2 separate regions of the Homo sapiens genome follow, and region 2 is linked to region 1. Evidence: promoter capture Hi-C in 16 types of primary human blood cells and fetal thymus (Javierre and others, 2016). All regions are on one chromosome and are shown on one strand. Each heading gives the region's core, a stretch centred on a gene start or on the middle of the fragment in contact. The rest is flanking DNA. Distances are from core to core; before and after follow the strand shown. Region 1 holds the start of KLHL28 (kelch like family member 28). Region 2 has its middle 820 kb from the start of LRFN5.

Region 1 (3,592 bases), core at 664-3,163:
TGAGATGTTCCAGGAGTAAACAAAGCACCTGCTGAGGTCCTACTTCCTTCATTAGCTTGAGGAAGATTTTCATGTATTCTTGTTTGATCACCAACTTGTTGTCCGCCAGCACTTTGACAGAAGCTGCTATAACTGGTCCCAAGAACTGCTGTACCTGCTCTCCAAGGCGAATAACCAGTAAATGCAGGACTTCAAGTGTGCCATGCACCACTTTGAAGTTAGAATCGTCTAACAAATTATATAGCAAACTAATGAAGCCAACAAGACTAGAATGAGGAGTAGAACTAGGGTTAAATTTTCCCAGCACCTGCTTTAGTTCTTCGACGGCCTGGGTCCGGTTCTTATAGTCTTCCTGATCCAATAATCGTGAATGCAGCTCCTGAGGAATAATCCCAAATTTAAGATTGCTGTTGGAAAGAGTCACTGCACAGGGAAGGGGATCTTCAGGAAATCCAGAGGCTTCAAGTTCCAAATAATAAGGAACCTGACTTCCAAACTGGGACTCCAGGCGGCGATTGTAGTGTCTCCTCAGGGCAGAGGGCAGACGAGAAATGTAAGATTGAAACCTGTCTTGGCCAAGTCGCTCCCCAATTTGTTGAAGTGCGGAGAAAGCTGTCTCAGATTCTTCTTCTGTCTCCTGATCACCAAGCTTTCGGGCTAGGGATATTATCACCTCGGTGAGATCCAGACCAAGCAACAAGTCCTCAGTAGTAAGCAAGATGGGAAGCAGTAGTGCTGTGGAAGCTCTAAGTCGGGCATCGGTACTTTCCAGTCCTTGTTGTATAAGCGTTCTCAGCACCTCTCCAGGACTACGTTTCAGACATATATGAAGGATCTGCAGCGCATCTTTCCGCAGGGCTGGATTCTCTTCCCGTAACGAGACAACTAGTTGAGGCAAAAGTGCTAAGCTAAAGGCCTCTTCAAGCTGGCCTGCCTCCCCCTGACCCCGGAGAACGTCCGAGAGAAGTTGCAAGCAGAGCCGCTTCTCATCACTACCTCCTTCCACAAGCACTCGGCCCAGTGCCCGATACAAAGCTTCCTTGCGTCGGGGGAAGCCAAGTCGACCGCCCCGCCGCGGCAAAGCAGCTTGCAAAGCCTGGAAGGCCTCAGAAGGATCCCGGGCAGTGCGGAGGAGTTGAAGGAGCCGAGTGTCCTCTTCATCTCCCCCTGACAAACCGCCTCCAGACTCAGACCAGCTGCTTGAGACTGCCTCCGAGGGCATCAAGAGGGCCGAGGCCAGAGGCGAAGTTGTAGTGGGGCAGGAACCGTGGTCCCCCGCAGCTCCACGGAAGTAGTAGTTTTTCTCTCCTCTCATAATGCCCCCAACTCGACTATCATCGGTCTCTGGGGCGGAAGGACGACTGCGGCTCTGGAGCCGATAGGTAGAGAGGACTGGAAAGGGCGGCAGCAGAAGCAGCGCGGAGGGGGCAGCCGCCATGCAGGGTTGTCAGGTGGTGGTGGTTGGAAGAAACCATTGCCGTCTCCAAAGGGCTCGATGGAGCCCAGACTTCCAGATCCTCTCCAAGCCCCAAGCTGCAGAAGAGGCAAAAGAACAGCTTCAGCCTGCCGCCAGGCCGCCCCCAACTCCGGGAGGCAGCCTCTGGCAAAATGGCCCCCGTCTGAGCCCTAGACCCCACAGCTGCCACCGGGCGTAACCAAGGGCACCACGTGACCAAACCGATTGCTTCCATGGTGATGTACCCAGCGCGGACCTCTTGACCCGGAAATCCACTTGCCGTGATGAATGCTGGGTTATGTAGTCCACGTCAGGTGTTGAGACTAGGCCAAAGTCTCCTGGAAGAGGAAGTCAGAACGTTGTAAACGCAGCTACAGCGGAGAAGGGAGGAGGGGTGAAGCCATTTGACGGATGTGACGCTTTCCTTGCTCTGGGCGGAAGTTGCCCGCCCCACCCGTAAGAGTTAGGGTTTGACCGGAGCTAGTGAGGATCCAGCCCAGGCTCCAGTTGTCCGCGGTTCCTCCTCCTGTCGCTGCCCGTGTGATTACTGAGACTCAGGTATTTTCCTTTTGCTGTCCTCCAGCGGTGCAGGCTTTGGCAGTGTTTTGCCCGAATGCCACTGGTGCTAGAGTAAGAGGCAAAGGACTGAGCGGAGCAGGTGGAAAGAGAGGCGACATCTTCTTGTGCAGGGCTCGTCACCCTTGTAAACGCGTTACTCTCTACCACCCTGAGTAACTGCGATCCTTTCCTCTTGCCATCTGCTTATCAGGACAGAAGATCTGGACCACGGCCAAGCTCACAAATCGGGTATTTTTTTTCAATTCCTGGTCTTTGGGGCCTTTATTCGCCTCCCCCTTCTCCTTTTGTCGACTTCTCTTAACCCTCCGGCCGCAGAGGGTTAATTTTTTTTTGTTTTTGTTTGTTTGTTTTTGGCAACGTTTCCTTACCCTCATCACTTTGCGTTTTCTTTACAACGTACATAATATGGAAATAGGTCTGTTTTTTTCCCCCTGTAGCTAACCGCCTCTCCCTTAGACGTTATCAAAATCTTTCCTTCTAATGCAGTTCCTCTGTGGGACTCTCCCCTAACCTCCGCCCCCTCCGTCTGCCGCCCTAGCCTCCCTGCAGGATCCTCAAGCGTCTCTGCAGCCTTTCAGTCTCCTAGAGACAGAGATTGCGAAGACAATTTCACTTGCGGTGGAAGTTCTTGGCATCATGGTTCTAAGAGAATTCTGCCTTGTGGATTTAGGAATGATAGTAGACATTTATTTATTTTAGGCGAACTGAGAATTTTGTGTGCATTTTCTCCTCATAAGTGATACTTAAACGGACACAGTGGAAGAGCTGGAGTGTCTAGTGTGAGCCTGAATGCTTTGGAGTGTGGAAGAGATATTTTTTTTTTTTGAAGGAATAATACTATTACTTTTGAATGACTCGTGCGAAAAGTCTAAGTTATCATTTGAAGACCCAAATTTATGCACTTCAAATGCAAGTATTCCTACCCTGCTCTGTACCAGGTGGGATTTCTCTTAAATACTTTTTAAAGTCTTGGAATAAATGAGTCACATATGCCAAACAGCTTTATAAATAATGCTCCCAGCTGATGCAAGTGCAAAAATAATTTCTGGATTTTTGCCTTAAAGTACGATTTGAATATCAGTTTTGTTTTGTTTTGTTTTTGGGGGGGTGGGGGTGGGGAATAGACTATAATGTAAATGAGGCTGTGTAAATATACATCCTATGTTTTGGTTTAAATTCTAGGCTGTTACTTTGGTTTTAATGAGCCATTTTCGTGTTTAAATGAATCTGCCTAAATTAGGTTTAGCTAGCATGTTTCATTTTAGGGACAGGTTAAAGACAGGGAGGTGAAAAACAAGAAATGATTGTAGCAGTTGTCAATGAGAAAGTGTCTGGTTCTCACAGTTCCAACCTAAGAAGCTCAAATGTGTAGACTTCTAGTCATGTATTGCCCAGACTTGAGGAACCCAGTTCAAACTAACCTAGACAATGATGTACACATTACAGTGCCAGTTTATGTTGGATCAGAATTTTCAAGTTGAAAATCCAGTGCACTCTTTCTTGTATCCAAGAACTTGGGAAGCCAAGTTAATAACTAGAGGTTGTGTGGTAATCATG
Region 2 (3,592 bases), core at 386-2,885, 2.5 Mb after region 1:
TTGTGATTCACTGAGAAGAACTATAAAGAAAAGGGAAGAGGGGAGTTATGTAAATTCAAGTATTATAATTTGCAAGATTGCTTTACTGTTACATTCAATCATGCATACATAAGGTAGAATGATTTTGTATATGCCTTATGATAACTAGTTAAAATCTACCTCCCCAGCCTTATTATTATCAAAAATGGCATCATCTCCATACACATAATAACAGCTAGAATCAAAATATCCAATTACTATGTAGATAATAAAAAACAAGAATAGGAGAAATAAAGCTACTCTTTCATACAAAATGTAACCTTTCCTTGGTTTGCACATTGTGAATAAGTCAGAGGAGCTTCACACAGAACAATATTTTGCAATACATTGGTAAGGAGAGGAAATTTATCACAGAAGTTAAGGGCCCTTGCTCAGCAACCAGAATGCCTGAGCTGCATTCCAGATCCACCAGTTGTGTGATTCTGAGCAATAACCTAAGCTGTTCCATGACTAAATTTCTCCATATAGATAAGGAAAATAATTGTCCCTGTTGTTTAAGGTATAATGAGGTTTCTATGAGTCAGTGCATACAAAATGTTTAAAAAAGTGTCTTGATATAGGAAACAATCAATAAGACTTCTTAATATTAATTTGTATGATTGAAGGAATAAAAATTTTAACATTGGCTTTGGCCACATAATATTTATAATATTGGTAATGGGAAAATATCTATTTATCACATTTTAACATGCATAATTATCATTTGAGGAAAATTTATTTAATTAATTTATTTGGTTATGTTTATATAGTTATTGTAACATTGAGAAATATTGAACTTGGCCTCTCAAAAACAGAGACTGGATAAGGCATAACCGTCAGCTGTATCAACAACCTTCTGCCTTCCACAGAAGACACGCTGGAGATAATTGATGGGCTATTTGAAGAAAGACGTGCACTAGAAAGTGGAACTGGATTTCTGAATATAAAAAAAAAAATTTGAAATCTGACTGTGGAGATCCAGCTGTGTTTCTTGTGATATATATGTGAAAATACTAACCTCTTAAAAAAACACCATTAAGGCCCTCCATTACTCTGGTAAATTCATAACAAACATGAGATTCTTAGTTACTATTAAGCGTTGCCATTACTCTGTTATTTTCAATATAAGCTAAATTACTATTTTCTAGAGGGAACACCAAAAAATGTCAATTTTTAAAATTCATTCATTCAACTCAGTTGAGTAGGAAATAATAAAATATTGCTGCCAGAATGTCTTTTAGATTTACATTTATATCAGCTTTTTCTCTGTTAAAACAAAGAGTGTGCCAAGCTACAATTCCATAAATGTCAAGTGGAAACATGCTCTCACAGTTTAACTGTGTGAACAGTCCTGCATTTTCTATGGGAATACAGAGGATCTGTCATTATACAATCTTATTTCATTACTAATTAGTCTGTGATATATGAGGATTACAAAATCTGCAATGAATATAATCCCATGTATCCAATATAATTTTGCTTCTTACATTGAAATTTTTCAGGGAAATCAAAAATAAGCATACTATAAGTGAAACAAATTATTTTTATATTGACTAAAGCTGAGGGAGTATATTAAAAAATTCTAAATCTCTAAACCTAAATGTATATGTTTTATATTTTTCAACTAAGTTAATTAAAATGTCTTTTTCCCCATATTTCACTGAGTGAAGAGTGAGCATTTCAGAAGGCTTTAGAATACAAAGTTGAGTTTGACATCAAAGTGAAAAGTGGTGACATTGTATTATTAGATTAGTAAATAGTGTCATTAGAATTTAGACACTTTGTTTTTATACACCACTAAATCTTAACTCCTTGTTAAACATATGGTCTTGATTCTATTCAGAGAGAAACTACAATGGTGTCTGCCAAATATTCACAACTTGAACTGCAGAATAAAGACAATATTTCTATGTAAACTGTGCTCTCTAGGTAATAAATATATAGGGATCTATTTATCACCAAAACAACCGCTATTATTTCATAAACTGTTTTTGGCAGCTTACAAGTAGGTATTATTTTAAGGAATTATTTATAATATAGTTCACTTATTTACTTCATGAAAAACACTAAATGAATACATATTTATTTAATAAAATATTTGTTTTCAAATTTTTAAATGATTGTCTTTAAATTAAATATAAAGAAACAAAGGAGAGATAAAATTTACTTCTAGACTGAAATAATACTCTTGGATGACAAAGAACATCGAGAACTTTGATGAAAGAATAAATTTGGGAGAAAAAAAGAACAGTGAAGTAGAAGAGACTAATCATATAGAAATACTGCATGTGAATAATCAACAAGCAGGAATCTAAATAGGGAAGATACAGATTTTAGCACAGTGATATAAGTTACATAAAAAAATTGTTGTCATGATTAATAACTACTTTCATAACAGAAAGTTTTAACATAACTGACTGTTTTAGGTACCAACTCTATAGTAAGAGCTGCTTACATGTTAAGCAAAACATTGTAAAAGCTAATACGATTGTAAAAATCATGAATGGAGTTTTATCAGTGGGAACCAAGACAGAACCTCCCGGTAAGAGTGCATGCCATTCTTGAATAAATGACCAGAGTTTTAAAAATGTTTTCATAATGCTATTAATAATTGTTAAGGGCTATTTGAAATGCATCTATTATTCCAAGAATAGATAGTTAGATGGGTAACTATACGTAATAATATTTAAAAGCATAGATTTTGAGTATGTATAATAATCTTCAATGCTTTTGATACACTGGTTCTATTACTTTAGGAAAGATGTGTTTTCATCTATAAAATAAAGTTAATATTTTATATCCTATATGTATAGGCAGGCTTAATGCAATTAATATACCTAAAGCTGCTATTAATAACATATGTTTGTTACATAAAATGACAGGTGTTACTATAAAGTGCAACAGGTAATTTAGTCTAAAATACTTAGATAATAAAGTAAGACATGGCTTTGTGTGTTGCCTTTTCTCTTAATATCAATCCTAATTACCTGTCTTTATTATGTAGACATAACCTTTATGTATTAAAGGCAAATATACAAACATTGGACTTTAACTTAAGGGGTCTTTGATTAATACTGCTAAGCATTAATTTAGAAAAACAAAATGTCATGCACCAAATAACTAATAATGTGATGAAAATAATGAGATACTCCTACTGACTCAAATCCCATCAAAAAATCATCTTCTCATAATCATTATGAATCATCTTTTCAGAATGAACCTGGAGGGCATTATGCTAAGTAAAATAAGCCAGAAACAGAAAGACAGAAACTGATACTGCATGATCTGACTTACATGCTGTCTTATGGTTCTCTGGAAAGACAGAACCAATAGGATGAATGAATGGATAGATAGAAAGAAAGAAACATAGATAGATGGATAGATAGAATAGATAAGAGGGAATATACTAGAGGAATGGGCTCACAAGATTCTGAAGGATAAGGAGTCCCATGATGGATTACCTGGGAGCTGGAGAACCAGAGAGGCTGATAGCATGGCTCAGTTCAAATCTCAAGGCCTGAGAATCAGGGAGGCTGATGAGGTAATGCTCAATCTGAGGCCGAAAGCCCAAGAG

What was found. The method cuts DNA at HindIII sites, captures the fragments that hold promoters and counts their contacts. A CHiCAGO score of 5 or more calls a contact.
Region 2: a fragment that was not itself captured here is called in contact with the fragment with the promoter of KLHL28 in region 1 in 1 of 17 cell types (total B cells); the score reaches 5.8 in total B cells.

The regions. Positions count from the first base shown.
Region 1 is chr14:44,960,268-44,963,859 of GRCh38, reverse strand. KLHL28 (kelch like family member 28) reads left to right here and starts at 1,913. Exons shown (of 5, transcript NM_017658.5): 1 at 1,913-2,014. TOGARAM1 (TOG array regulator of axonemal microtubules 1) reads right to left here and starts at 1,670. Exons shown (of 20, transcript NM_001308120.2): 1 at 1-1,670. The coding sequence starts at 1,438. RefSeq lists enhancers at 1,213-1,727, 1,377-2,186, 1,728-2,242, 2,757-2,846. The HindIII fragment of the contact is 5,188 bases long and covers 1,038-3,592 here.
Region 2 is chr14:42,421,544-42,425,135 of GRCh38, reverse strand. No RefSeq gene overlaps it. Among named protein-coding and RNA genes, the nearest start is that of LRFN5, 820 kb to the right of the region's middle. The HindIII fragment of the contact is 9,653 bases long and covers 1-3,592 here.